2 separate regions of the Homo sapiens genome follow, and region 1 is linked to region 2. Evidence: promoter capture Hi-C in human tissues and cell types (Jung and others, 2019). All regions are on one chromosome and are shown on one strand. Each heading gives the region's core, a stretch centred on a gene start or on the middle of the fragment in contact. The rest is flanking DNA. Distances are from core to core; before and after follow the strand shown.

Region 1 (6,779 bases), core at 1,428-3,927, 42 kb before region 2:
CAAGTGATTCTCCTGCCTCAGCCTCCCGAGTAGCTGGGAATACAGGTGCCTGCCACCACGCCCAGCTAATTTTTGTATTTTTAGTAGAGACAGGGTTTCACCATGTTGCCCAGGCTAGTCTCAAACTCCTAACCTCAAGTGATCCACCCACCTCCGCCTCCCAAAGTGCTGGGATTGCAGGCGTGAGCCACCACGCCCGGTCTATTTTGGAGACACTTTTGCCACACCCATGTTTCACCAGAGCACCTTGGCAATGGTGGCTTTTGTGTAAGGCAGGAATCAGATATGCACAAAACTCCAAAGGAACCCACAGAAACTTTCCACACCCATTATCCCCGCTCTGGTTAGTTCAGCTCGTCATGGAGAATACCTTCCTGGCTTCAAAGATCCAGTGGCTCTTCCCATCTTCATCTATCTGGTTCCACCATCGAAGGCCCACCAGGAGTCTTCCGGTTACATTCTGAGAACAATAGACAAAGGACTCTGAGCAGGTCACAGGCAAAGAGGCTTATTCACTGTATTGATAAACAAAAGTTCCTTGATTCATTTCAGACTTGTACTGGGAGCAGGAAGAAAAAAGGCCTTGAATTGTAGTGGATTCTCAGATGTCAAGACTTCTAGTTTTCAACTAAGCTTACTTTAAAAAGTTACACACTCCCCCCACAAAACATATATAATTTATATGTTCATATTATATATGTTTTAAATATATGTATTAATTCGTATACAAGTGATATGGTTTGGCTGTCTCCCCACCCAAACCTCATCTTGAATTGTCGCTTCCATAATTCCCACGTGTTGTGGGGGAGACCGGGTGGGAGATAATTGAATCATACAGGCAGTTTCCCCCACACTGTTCTCATGGTAGTGAATAAGTGCCACGAGATCTGATGGTTTTTATAAGGGAAACCCCTCTCACTTGGCTCTCATTCTCTCTCTTTTTTTTTTTTTTTTTTTCCGAGACAGAGTTTGACTCTTGTCACCCAGGCTGGAGTGCAATGGCACAACCTCGGCTCACTGCAACCTCCGCCTCCCGGGTTCAAGTGATTCTTCTGCCTCAGCCTCCCAAGTAGCTGGGATTACAGGCACACACCACCGCGCCAGGCTAATTTTTGTATTTTTAGTAGAGACGGGGTTTCTCCATTCCCCTTACTTTTAAGTGACACTGCTCAGCACTCTTAAGCATGTCTCAGGAGTCTAAACCAAAGTACCTCTTGGTACCACGCACACAGGGGACAAGCCTCGTGTTTCGGAAGTGATGACATCACACGAAAGGGCCTCACCTTCACAGACCAGAAGTCCAGGGACAGGAGGAGCAGCACCATGACAAAACAGCCCACAAAGCTCTTGCTGAACCAGTCGCAGCTCACGTAGGTGACGATGGCACTCACTCGGAAAAACAGGTGGAAAAAGGTGGCCAAGGGGTGTCTAGGAAAGGACCCAGAAGGCGCCCTCACTCCAAGAGCTAAGCGGATGGTCACTGAACTCCCTTTACCACTTCAGACTTTGCTGGGGGTGTTAGCGTGGCTCAATGGAATGTTCTCCCCGGTGCATATGACGCAGAAACTCAGGCTGTAGCCCTGGGGACACATCATTAGGTCAGCAGTCCCCAGACAGTCATGCTGACACTGTTTTTTTTCCTCCCCTTCGAAGAATCCAGTACTTTCCCGCCACTTGACTCCAAATATCACTTGCCCTCTTCGAAACACGGTCATCTTTGAAGTGAAACGTGACAGCAGTCACTGCCTTCCCGCCTAGCAGAGATGACGGCCAGTTCCCTAAAGGTAAAGGTTGGGTTTTTCCACCACCAGTCACTGAGCTCCAAGCTCACACGCAGCCCACGGGGCAGGTGTCTCATGTCATCGGGGAATGCGTGTTCCTGGACAGAGGGAAACATGTGACCTGTGAATGGCAGGTCTAACTCATCATACTTGCTCAGTGGTGAATGGCACGTGAATCCTGGCATTTAATCTAGGGGAAGGTGGTTCTTGTTCACTGTGCCTTTAGACACAAACCTGGCCAGAAAGAAGAGAGGGAGCCAAGGGGAACATGCTCATCCTGTGTAAATTGCTTTTCTTTTTTTTTTTTTTTTTTTTTTGAGATGGAGTCTTGCTCTGTCCCCTAGGCTGGAGTGCAGTGGCGTGATCTCGGTTCACAGCAACCTCCACCTCCCGGGTTCAAGCAATTCTCCTGCCTCAGCCTCCCAAGTAGCTGAGATTATAGGCGCCTGCCACCACGCCCAGCTAATTTTTGTACTTTGAGTAGAAACAGGATTTCAACATGTTGGCCAGGCTGGTTTCGAACTCCTGACCTCAGGTGATCTGTCCACTTTGGCTTCCCAAAGTGCTGGGATTACAGGCATAAGCAACCACGCCTGGCCTTATTTTTTTTATTATTATTATTTTTTAATGTAAGTCTGATATAGGCCAGGCACGGTGGCTCACACCTGTAATGCCAGCACATTGGGAGGCCGAGGCGGGCGGATCACCTGAGGTCAGGAGTTCAAGACCAGCCTGGCCAACATGGTGAAACCCCATTTCTACTCAAAATACAAAAATTAGCTGGGCATGGTGGCGGCTGCCTGTAACCCCAGCTACTCGGAAGGCTGAGGCAGGAGAATCACTAGAACCTGGGAGGCGGAGGTTGCAGTGAGCCAAGATCACGCCACTGCACTGCAGCCTGGGTGAGAAAGTCAGACTCCAACTCAAAAAATAAAAAAATAAAAAAATAAAAACAAGAAAAGAAAGGTTACCAAATTGTATAGAGCAGGTGATGGCAGTGGGTGATGTGGGCCAGACTGAAGACACTTGTGGGTTTCTGTTTCTTTCTGTGGTTTCCCAGTTTAAATAGAGCACACAGGTAGAGAACGATACTCAACTATGATCAGGAAATCAATGGCACGAGCCCAGTTGTTATACCAGAAAGGGTTTCAGATCCAGACCCCAAGAGAGGGTTCTTGGATCTCACCCAAGAAAGAATTCAGGGCAAGTCCATTGAGTAAAGTGAAAGCAAGTTTATTTGGAAAGTAAAGGAATAAAGAATGGCTAGTCTATAGATAGAGCAGTCCTAAGGGCTGCTGGTTGCCCATTTTTATGGCTATTTCTTGATGATATGCTAAAGAAGGGGTGGATTATTCATGCCTCCCCTTTTTCGACCATATAGGGCAACTTCCAGACGTTGCCATGACATCTGTGAACTGTCATGGTGCTGGTGGGAGTGTAGCAGTGGGGACGACCAGAGGTCACTCTCATGGCCATCTTGGTTTTGGTGGGTTTTAGCCGGCTTTTTTACTGCAACCTGTTTTATCAGCAAGGTCTTTATGACCTGTATCCTGTGCGACCTCCTATCTCATCCTGTGACTTAGAATGCCTTAACCGTCCAGGAATGCAGCCCAGTAGGTCTCAGCCTCGTTTTACCCAGCCCCTATTCAAGATGGAGTTGCTCTGGTTCACACGCCTCTGACACAGTGATGGATGAGAATGAAACCCGCACCTCAGGGCAGGGGAGGAAAAGGGAGGGATGAAAGGGACTCTTCCCAGCACCAGGCAGCTGTGCAAACCAGACCCAGTACTGCCAGAGCCAAGATTTTCATGAGAAGTCAGAAATCCAGACTTGCAATGGGAAATCTGATTTTAAATGATGGCCACTAATTCTTTTACTGAAATATCAGTCTGTGTTTCTCACTGGCCTGCGAGCAGTGAGCTTGCAACCTCTGGATTAGGTTACAAAATGTTGTGGGCTTTGGAAAATGCGGGGCCGAATGGGGTGGTCACAGAGATCCACACAGAACTGCAGGGGAAAGCGCCTGCTCATTCTCCCCAAGAAGAAACGGAGTCCGAGTCAACAAACCACAGGTGCCTCTACAACTGTGGGGCTTCCGACTCCCAGGGGAATGTTAAGATTCAGAAGCAGACTTCACAGTGACTTTTTTGCGTAGCAAAGCACCAACTATTCACCAGGATGGGTCTCATCTGAGCCTCTCAGGCTCTTGGCTCTCCTGGTGACCTGAATGAAAACCAACCCAGGAAGTGCACCCGGCTTTTAAGAATTAGACAGGATCAAGCCGGGCGTGGTGGCTCACGCCTGTAATCCCAGCACTTTGGGAGGCTGAGGCAGGTGGATCACGAGGTCAAGAGACTGAGACCATCCCTGGCCAACATGGTGAAACCCCGTCTCTACTAAAAATACAAAAATTAGCTGAGCGTGGTGGTGGGCGCCTGTAGTCCCAGCTACTCGGGACGCTGAGGCAGGAGAATTGCTTGAATCTGGGAGGCGGAGGTTGCAGTGAGTTGAGATCGTACTACTGCACTCCAGCCTGGTGACAGAGCGAGACTCCGTCTCAAAAAAAATAAAAATAAAAATAAAAGAAGAATTAGACAGGATCACCAGGTGTGGTGGCTCACACCTGTAATCCTAGCTCTTTGGGAGGCCGAGGCAGGCAGATCAGTTGAAGTCAGGAATTCAAGACCAGCGTGGCCAACATGGTAAAACTCCGTCTCTACTAAAAATACAAAAATTAGCCAGTTGTGGTGGCAGGTGCCTGTAATCCCAGCTACTCAGGAGGCTGAGGCAGGAGAATCGCTTGAACCTGGGAGGTGGAGGTTGCAGTGAGTCGAGATGATGCCACTGCACTCCAGCTTGGGCAACAGAGCAAATCGCTGTCTCGAAGAATTAGACAGGATCACATAGAACTTAAAAACTTCCTGGAGTGTTCCAGAAGATAAGACTCTTGGGTGTCTCTTTTTGCTGTAAACCTAATTGAGAATTTCCTAACTGAATAAAATTTTGTCCCTTGCCCCTGGAGATAAATAAATGCTCTTTCAATAACTGAAAGTTCTTTGAGGGCACAGACCATGTTTAACACATTTTTATATCCCCAAAAGCACCCAGTATTTAAGATTCTCCGCAAACATATTTGTTATGTTGAACCTTGTAATCGAGTCAGTTAGAATCACTGGAAACATCTGTCCTCTTTGTAGAACAATACAAATGTAAAAAAAAAAAAAAAGATAGAGGGTCGGGCGCGGTGGCCCATGCCTATAATCCCAGCACTTTGGGAGGCTGAGGCGGCTGGATCACTTGAAGTCAGGAGTTCGAGACCAGCCTGGCCAACATGGTGAAACCCTATCTCTACTAAAACTACAAAAATTAGCCAGGCCTGATGGCAGGCGCCTGTAATCCCAGCTACTTGGGAGGCTGAGGCAGGAGAATTGCTTGAACCTGGGAGGCAGAGGTTGCAGTGAGCTGAGATTGCACCACTGCACTACGGAGCAAGACTCCATCTCAAAACAACAAAACATACAGATCTCAAAAAAATGTCAAAGTGTGAGCCAAGTGTGCGCTGACCCATGGTAAAATGTGGAAGTAAATGCATTCGAATAAATCCCTTGCCCACCCGCTTCTTTCTTTTTTCTTTTTGGCTGTGGCTCTCCTAAAATAAAATGCAGAAAAATTTCCAGTTGTTGATAGCTTCCACTTAGCTGGGCCCTGATTAACTCAATGGAAAGTGGTGTTACTCAAACAGAGTTCAAAGCCCAAAGCAAGTAGAAGAGGACGCCTGTTGCCCTTTTAAATGTTGCTTTAATCCTATTTTATGCAGGTTGCTCCATCAGCATCCTCCAAGTCCTCATTCAGTCCCTATCTGGAGTTTGCCCAGCCTGTGCCTCTAGCTAATACTGTGTGATCTCAGACCAGTTTTCCAGAGTTTTGAGAGTCATGGCTTAAGTCCTGTCCACTCGTCTCTGCCATCGGGTCCTCCATCCTCCTGCTCCCCAGCAACATGGAGCACACACACACACACCACCAATCACCTCCAGTTCCCAGTGCCATTGCTCTCTAACTCCGCCCTCCCAGGCACCAACCTGGGAGGTTGCCCCTTGAGAGGCAAACAGCACAGGGGCATGGCACCAGCTGCGTGTGTTCCCGGACCAACTGAGAATCAGGCGGCATATTCTTGTGGCCCAAAAACGAGATGCAGATGAACTGGGAGAGGAAGTTTTTATTTCTGTAGCCAGTTACAGGGAGAAGACCTAGAAAATATCGCCAGGCCAACTTAAAATTACCAAGTTTTCCAGAGCTTATATACCTTCTGAGCTATATGTCATGGATAAGTTTGCATTCATCTAAAATAAGTGATTGGCCGGGGGCGGTGGCTCACGCCTGTAATCCCCAGCCCTTTGGGAAGCTGAGGCAGGCAGATCACTTGAGCTCAGGAGTTCGAGACCAGCCTGGCCAACATGGCAAAACTCCGGCTCTAATAAAAATACAAAAATTAGCGGGTGTGGTGGTGCACGCCTATAATTCCAGCTACTCGGGAGGCTGAGGCAGGGGAATTGCTTGAACCCAGGAGGCAAAGTTTGCAGTGAGCCAAGATCGTGCCACTGGACTCCAGCCTGGGCGACAGAGTGAGACTCCATCTCAAAATGAATGAATGAATGAATGAATGAATGAATGAATGAATAAAATAAAATAAAGATTAACTTCTTTTAATCTATAACTAATATCTGAGTCCTGAAGACCTTCCTCTGGAGCCTCAGTAAATTTACTTAATCTAAATGGGTCCAGGTGCTGGGGTGATTACCCTTATCTTGTCTCCTGCTAAATGATGGAGGTTTGGGGAGTCTCTTCAGACCCCTAATAAACTTGTTTGTGGAGGCCTGGGGAGTTTCTTTGGACCTCCCAATAAACTTATTTCATCCTAAATGGGTCCTTTGTTATCTTGTCATACTTCAAGGACCAGGAAAGACCTGGGCACAACTCTAGGTGGGCTTTTGTCACAT
Region 2 (6,903 bases), core at 813-3,312:
GGAAGTGGGGAGGGATAGCATTAGGTGATATACCTAATGCTAAATGACGAGTTAATGGGTGCAGCACACCAACATGGCACATGTATACATATGTAACGAACCTTCACGTTGTGCACATGTACCCTAAAACTTAAAGTACAATAATAATAAAAAATAAATAAAATAAAAAAAAAGAAAGAGGCACAGGGAAACTTCACACACACACACACACACACACACACACACACACACGTCACCTGACCATGGAACAGAGAGAGATGTGAACATGCTATAACACTGGCCTTGAAGACGGAGGAACAGGCCACAAGCCACAGAATGCCAGCAGTCACCAAAAGCTGGAAAAGGCAAAGAATGGATTTTCCCCTAATTCTTCCGAAGGGAGTGTGGCACTGCTGCCACCTTGGTTTCAGCCCAGGAACACTGACTGTGGACTTCTGGCCTCCAGAACTGCAGGAGAATAAACTTCTTTTGTCTTAAGCCAAGATGATAATGGTAATTTGTTCTAGCGGCCATAGGAAACTAATACAGTCTATTACTTTCTGGGGTTTATTAGGTTTGAATCAGAGAGTTTGATTTTAAAAACAGAGACTTTACAAGGAATGGCATTTGGGTGCCAGGGCTCGTCCCATGCCTACTGGCTCTGATAGCTGGAAGCAGAACTGGGTGGGTGAGTGAGGCTGAGCTGTGGGTGTTTCTAGAAGTGGCTGCCGCCTGGGCCATCGGCAACCACGTTCACAGGTCATCCCTCATGCCTTGGTCATGCCACCTTCTGGGATGCTAGAGGTCTCAGGCAGTTAAGTGACTTGACCCAGGACAAGTCTGTCTAGCTAGACTCAGCAGGGATTAGAATAAAACTCCAAGCTCTCTTCCACTTGTCCAGCCCACTGCCAAGCTTGCTCCCCTCTGGCCTCAGTGGCTTTCTCTGATCTTACAACATAGCCCCAGGGCCTTTGCGCTTGCTGTTCCTTCAGCTTGGAACACTCTCCCTCTGGAGTCTCCCATGGCTGGCTGCTTCTCATCATTCTGGTCTCAGCTCAAATGCCACCTCCTCAGAGAGGCCCTCCATGGCTGCACTAAGGCAAGTGGCCTTCTCTAGTTACCTTCTCTTTCATCACAGGGCTGATTTTCTTCTCACATTCAATTATCTCATTAATCTCCTTGCCTGTTCAACATCAACTCCACCCCTTCTTCCTCCCTCTCCCAATGCAGGCTCCAGGAGGGCAGGGACTTTGTCTGATGTGTCCACAGATATGTCCCCAGCCCCAGACCTGGCACACAGTAGGTGCTCAATATATTTTGAATGAATGAGTGAGTAAATGAATGAATTTGCAGCTTTGGGGAACGCCTGACCCAAGCTCCATCCCAACACACCTGATCTTGGCTTTCCTAAAGGCCAGCTCCTCCTCGTTTCCAAAGTCCAGGGACACATCCTCGGTATCGTCCACCAGGGCCTGGGAGGAGAGCAAGGGCAGGTGGCAGGCCCAAGCACGGCGCACACCCCAACCCCACCCGCCCTGTCCTCCTGGGCTTGGACTCCACTTGCACCCCACCGGGTTCCCAAGTGGACCCTCCGAGCTGGCGGGGCCCCTCCGCTGCGGCTGCAGTGCAAAGCCCTCTCCACCCTCCCGACCACCGGGTGCAGCCCAGCCCCAGGCCCCGGCGCATCCCTCCTCCTCCTCCCGGCTTCTCCAGCGCTCCCGCAGGCTCCCCTCGTCCCGCCCCGCCTCCAGCCCCAGCATCCCCGAGGCCCTACCTGCTTCATCACCCTCCCAGGAGCCCACCTGGCGCCCAGGCCCGGGGCTCCAGCTCCGCCCGTCGCCGCTGAAGGGGTCGGACGCCGGGCGGGCGGATGTAGGCAGCAGACGGTGGACGCTGAGGGTCGGGGCCTGCGCCCTGTGGGGCAGCCTCAGCGCAGCTTCTCGGGTGGGGCGGGGCGCTCGGGGCCTAAGGCGCAGTCGCAGGCTGGGGAGGGGGCTCGGCTCGCCGGGGACGCGCCCAGGAGAGAAAGCGGCGGCAGGGAGGCAACGGCCTGGGGAACTGCGGACAGAGATAGTGGGAGGAATGGGAGTCGGGGGCGGGGGGCGGCTGCGTCAGCGAATGGTGTGGACGGCGCATAAACGTGGATGTAGCGAATGATAAGGCAGTGAATGAATGTCAGTGGTGGGCAGCCGCATTCAGGGTTGGGAGAAGGTCAGTGTTTCCCAACAGTCTCTGCGCGCAAGAAATTCCCAGGAACCTTGTGAAAAGCAGATTCTCAGGCCCGGCCCGGGGGATGTGGAAGGCCTGGAGTGGGGCCCTAGAATCTGCCTTCCCCGCGCCCCCACCCCCCACGACAAAATGCAGTTAGGATGGGCCCTGCTGTGTTCTTTTTTGGGGGGTGGGGTGGGGAAGGCAGATTCTAGGGCCCCACTCCAGGCCTTCCACATCCCCCGGGCCGGGCCTGAGAATCTGCTTTTCACAAGGTTCCTGGGAATTTCTTGCGTGCAGAGATTGTTGGGAACATTCTCTGCACCTAGGCTGGAGAGCACTGGTGCCATCGTAGCTCACTGTGGCCTCAAACTCCAGGGCTCAAGCAGTCCTCCCGCCTCAGCCTCCCGAAAAGCTGGGACCACAGGCTGCACCACCACACCTAGCTAAATTTTTATTTTTGTAGAGAGGAGGGTCTCACTATGTCGCCCCGGCTAGTCTTGAACACCGAGGTTCAAGCCATCCTCCTGCCTCAGCCTCCCAAAGTGTTGGGATTACAGGAGTGAGCCACCACACCCGGCCTCACCTGCCTTTTAAGGGGTGGCGCTGCTATAGCCACAGCTTCAGAACCACAGTGAGATCTGCGTGCATCGCCGTGCCAGGCACTTATTAAGCGCAAAGTTATTAGTAGTATTAATACTATTATTGACAGTAATAGTAGTGTTTCTTGAAGTGAAAGTCTTCCTGGGTACCTCCCAGGAAAGAAAACTTGTCACCTGAGGGTCTTTCCTGGCCCAGGACACAGTGACTCTCCTCTCCTGCGTGCCCTCTCCCTGTCCTGATCCCCCACCCACGGACAGAGGGCTGAGCATCGAGATGCCAAAGCCAGTGACCCTGCCCTTTGCCCTCCCACCATGGACAATAGGTACGTGTCCCCTGCCCCTGGTGACCCCAAAGAGGGCTCCTGGGCCACAAGCCCCTGACACATTTTCCCCACTGCTGGTCTCCATGGGCGGAGGTGGAGGCAGGAGCTGTCTCATCTCTGATCCTGGGCCTGGGTTCCAGGCTTTCTGTCCTCCGCCCCCACCCCAATTCCCTAAGCTGACCCCACAAGGGCCTGCCAGGTGTGTGTGGAGGGAAAGTGCTTTCTCCTATGCCATTTCTCTTTTTTTTTTTTTTTGAGATGGAGTTTCCCTCTTGTCACCCAGGCTGGAGTGCAATGGTGCGATCTCGGCTCACTGCAACCCCTGCCTCCCGGGTTCCTGCAATTCTCCTGCCTCAGCCTCCCAGGTAGCTGGTATTACAGGCGCCTGACATCAACCCGGGTAATTTTTGTATTTTGTATTTTTAGTAGAGAGGGGGTTTCACCATGTTGGCCAGGCTGGTCTCCAACTCCTGACCGCAGGTGATCCACCCACCTTGGCCTCCCAAAGAGCTGGGATTACAGGCATGAACCACTGCACCCAGCCTCTACTATGCGATCTTCAGGAACCAAGATTTATATATATACAATGTGTATATATGTGTGTGTGTATGTATATATATATATATATATATATATATATATATATATATATATATATGTATATGTATATATATTTGCCAAACTCTGCTGCGATTTGGATAGCTTCTAAAAGACACACTGCCCAGATTGTGTTATGGACCAATTAAATCAGGCTCTCTGGGGATGGGACCCTATACCAGTGCTTTTAAAGCTCCCAGGTGTTGGGCTGCAAGGTAAAGAACCAGTGATTTAAATGAGTGCTTCTGACCCCTCAATCTGCAAATGAATCTCCTGGGGTTGGCTTAGAAGCTGGATGCTGACTCAGCGTTCTGGGGGTCTGGGGGTCTGGGCAGGGGCTGAGATTCTTTCTTCCTTTCTTTCCTTCCTTTCTTTTCTTTTCTCCTTCCTTCCTTCCTTTCTTTCTTTCTTGAGATGGAGTCAGTGGCTAGATCTCAGCTCACTGCAACCTCCACCTCCTGGGTTCAAGTGATTCTTGTGCCTCAGCCCCTTAAGTAGCTGGGACTACAGGAACATACCACCACGCCTGGCTAATTTTTGTGTTTTTAGTAGAGACAGGGTTTCACCATGTTGGCCAGGCTGGTCTCGAACTCCTGACCTCAAGTGATCTGCCTGCTTCAGCCTCCCAAAAGGCTGGAATTACAGCCGTGAGCCACCACATCCGGCTGAGATCCTGCATTTCTGAGAGCCCGTGGGAGAAGCTGATGCTGCTGCTCCCTGGACCACCCTTTGAATTGTAAAGATCTAAACCACCAAGGCCTGGTTTTCTAGAAAGGCCTGTGAGCTCTTCCTGCCCAGAAGGGTGAACGGAGAGGCCCACTCCCAGCGGGGCCCCAGCAGCCTGGGAAGGGGATATTGGGAGGAAGGAGGCAGGAGGGCAGCTGGAGGGAAGAAGCCGTTGCAGAACATTTAGGGGCTTTTTCTCTGACCCTAAGAATCACCAGCTGTTGGTGTCTGTTGAGTTGGGGTTCCTGGAGTCATGGGAAAACCCCCGTGGAATCCCCAGTCAGGACCAACTGTCATTCTCAGCCACTGGGTTGGAGGTTCCTCCAGAAATATCCTCAGCTCCTGCCATCTGGAGGTGGCTCTATAAATACAGGGTCACTTCCATCCCTCCTGACCTGTCCACATGGGGCAGAGGGCTGAGGATACAGATGCTGGGGCCACATATGAAGCCCTATTATTCCCTCCTTGGAAGAAAGCACCCTCCCTCTACACGTGGCCCAGACGGCCCTCTGTGGGGTCAGCTTCCTGAATCTGAGGGGTGGGCAGAGGGCCTGAGGGTTGCACAGAGAACTCATCTTGGTTTTAAAACTGGCTGCGGCAGAGACACCTGGTTGAAAGGTAGATTTTAGGCCGGGCACAGTGGCTCACACCTGTAATCCCAGCACTTTGGGAGGCCGAGGTGGGTAGATCACTTGAAGTCAGGAGTTTGAGATCAGCCTGGCCAATATGGCGAAACCCCATCTCTACTAAAAATACAAAAAATGAGCCGGGCATGGTGGCGCAAGCCTGTAATCTCAGCTACTCAGGAGGCTGAGGCAGGAGAATCGCTTGAACCCGGGAAGTGGAGGTTGTGGTGAGCTGTGATTGCGCCACTGCACTCCAGCCTGGGCCACACAGTGAGATTCAGTCTCGGAAAAAAAACAACAAACAAACAAACAAAAGGGTAGATTTTAGGATCTCACTCTAGGTTTTCTGAACCTCCAGGGTTGCGGCTTGGAGATCTGCCTTAATAAGAGCCGCAGAGAGGGCTTGGAAGCCCGACCTTTGGGAAACACTGGCCCTCTCCCCTCCCCCTACCCACACTGGTCTTGGCCCCTGAAGGATTTGGGGAGTAGACCTGTGAGAAGCAACCCCATCTCCGATCCCTGCAGCTGGGCTTGGGACCTTGAAGCCAGAACAACCCCAGGGAAGGAGGTCCAGGCTCAGGTAGCCACTGGCCTCTGGCTGACCTTGGAGGTCAACATCTGGAGTCTGCAGGCTTTGTTGGGGAGGGGACAGGTCACCTTAGGCAGGGGACTTCACCTCTCTGGCCTCAGTCTCCACATCTGTAAAGTGGCGCCATACTTTCCCCCTACCTGGCAAGGATGATGAAGGACCAGAGAAAACATGTCAGATTCCTTTCTCTGAATAGGGGCTCAGGAAACAGCGGCCTTGTTGACAGTGACTTAAGGTCATCAGCAGAGGGGTCTCGGGTCAGGAGCCCCCATGGGCCAGCAGCACACAGGACAGGAGCCTCGTGTCAGGGGCCTCTGCTGGGGATATCTGTCTTCCCAGCAGAACAGGGCTGGCCTTTCCTGAGTGGCTCCTGTTGGCCTCACACTGCGTGCCCCCGGGACATAGGGCACCTGGACAGAGGTACACACACAGTCTTTCTCTCCAGTGACCCCAGGAGTCCTGGACCAGGAGGCAGAGGCTTGGGTGTGAATTCTGGCAAACACAGGTCAGGGTGCTGGAACCCAGAGGCTGGAGGAGAACATTCGGCCAGGGGAGGAAGGAGACGTCAGTCTGGCAGGACCATGGCAGGCTGTAAGACACGCAGAGTGTTTGACTCTTTAGCTGCGAGCAAAGGGCAGTTGGCATAGAGGGTCAGTGGGGAGTGGAAAGAGTTTGACTACATCTGGGGCCTGAAAAGGCCCAAGATGCACTCCGTGTCCCCACCAGGCAGGATGGAAGTGGCAGCCCCCAAACCTGTCACACCAAAGCCAGCAGCTGCTCATCACCCTCAGCCCAGCATTCCTATGAGTGGCACTCCCTACGATCCCACTGGCCCCTAAGATCTGCACCCCACTCCCTGGCATCTGACGACGATCCTGTCATTTCTCCCCAGGTAGGGTTGCCAGATCTAGCAAATAAAAATAAGGGAACTCAGGCAGGGCATGGTGGCTCACGCCTGTAATTCCAACACTTTGGGGGAGGCCAAGGCAGGCTGTTCATTTGAGGTCAGGAGTTTAAGACCAGCCTGGCCAACATGGTGAAACCCCATCCTGATTAAAAATACAAAAATTAGCTGTACGTGGTGGTGTGCACCTGTAATCCCAGCTACAAGGAAGGCTTAGGCAGGAGAATTGCTTGAACCTGGGGGACAGAGGTTGCAGTGAGCCAAGATTGCCCCACTGCACTCCAGCCTGAGCGACAGAGTGAGACCCTGTCTCAAAAAAAAAAAAAAAAGAAAAAAATACAGAAACTGA

Evidence for each region. The method cuts DNA at HindIII sites, captures the fragments that hold promoters and counts their contacts. A contact is called where the count stands out against the background at its distance.
Region 1: a contact is called between a fragment that was not itself captured here and the fragment with the promoter of TVP23A in region 2, in 2 of the 25 tissues and cell types used here (lymphoblastoid cells and spleen).

Annotation. Positions count from the first base shown.
Region 1 is chr16:10,773,669-10,780,447 of GRCh38, forward strand. It overlaps TVP23A (trans-golgi network vesicle protein 23 homolog A), which reads right to left. Exons shown (of 8, transcript NM_001079512.4): 3 at 1,284-1,428; 4 at 371-460. Among named protein-coding and RNA genes, the nearest start is that of NUBP1, 33 kb to the left of the region's middle. The HindIII fragment of the contact is 8,970 bases long and covers 1-6,779 here.
Region 2 is chr16:10,816,732-10,823,634 of GRCh38, forward strand. TVP23A (trans-golgi network vesicle protein 23 homolog A) reads right to left here and starts at 2,063. Exons shown (of 8, transcript NM_001079512.4): 1 at 1,754-2,063; 2 at 1,372-1,451. The coding sequence starts at 1,762. RefSeq lists an enhancer at 4,601-4,810. The HindIII fragment of the contact is 21,418 bases long and covers 1-6,903 here.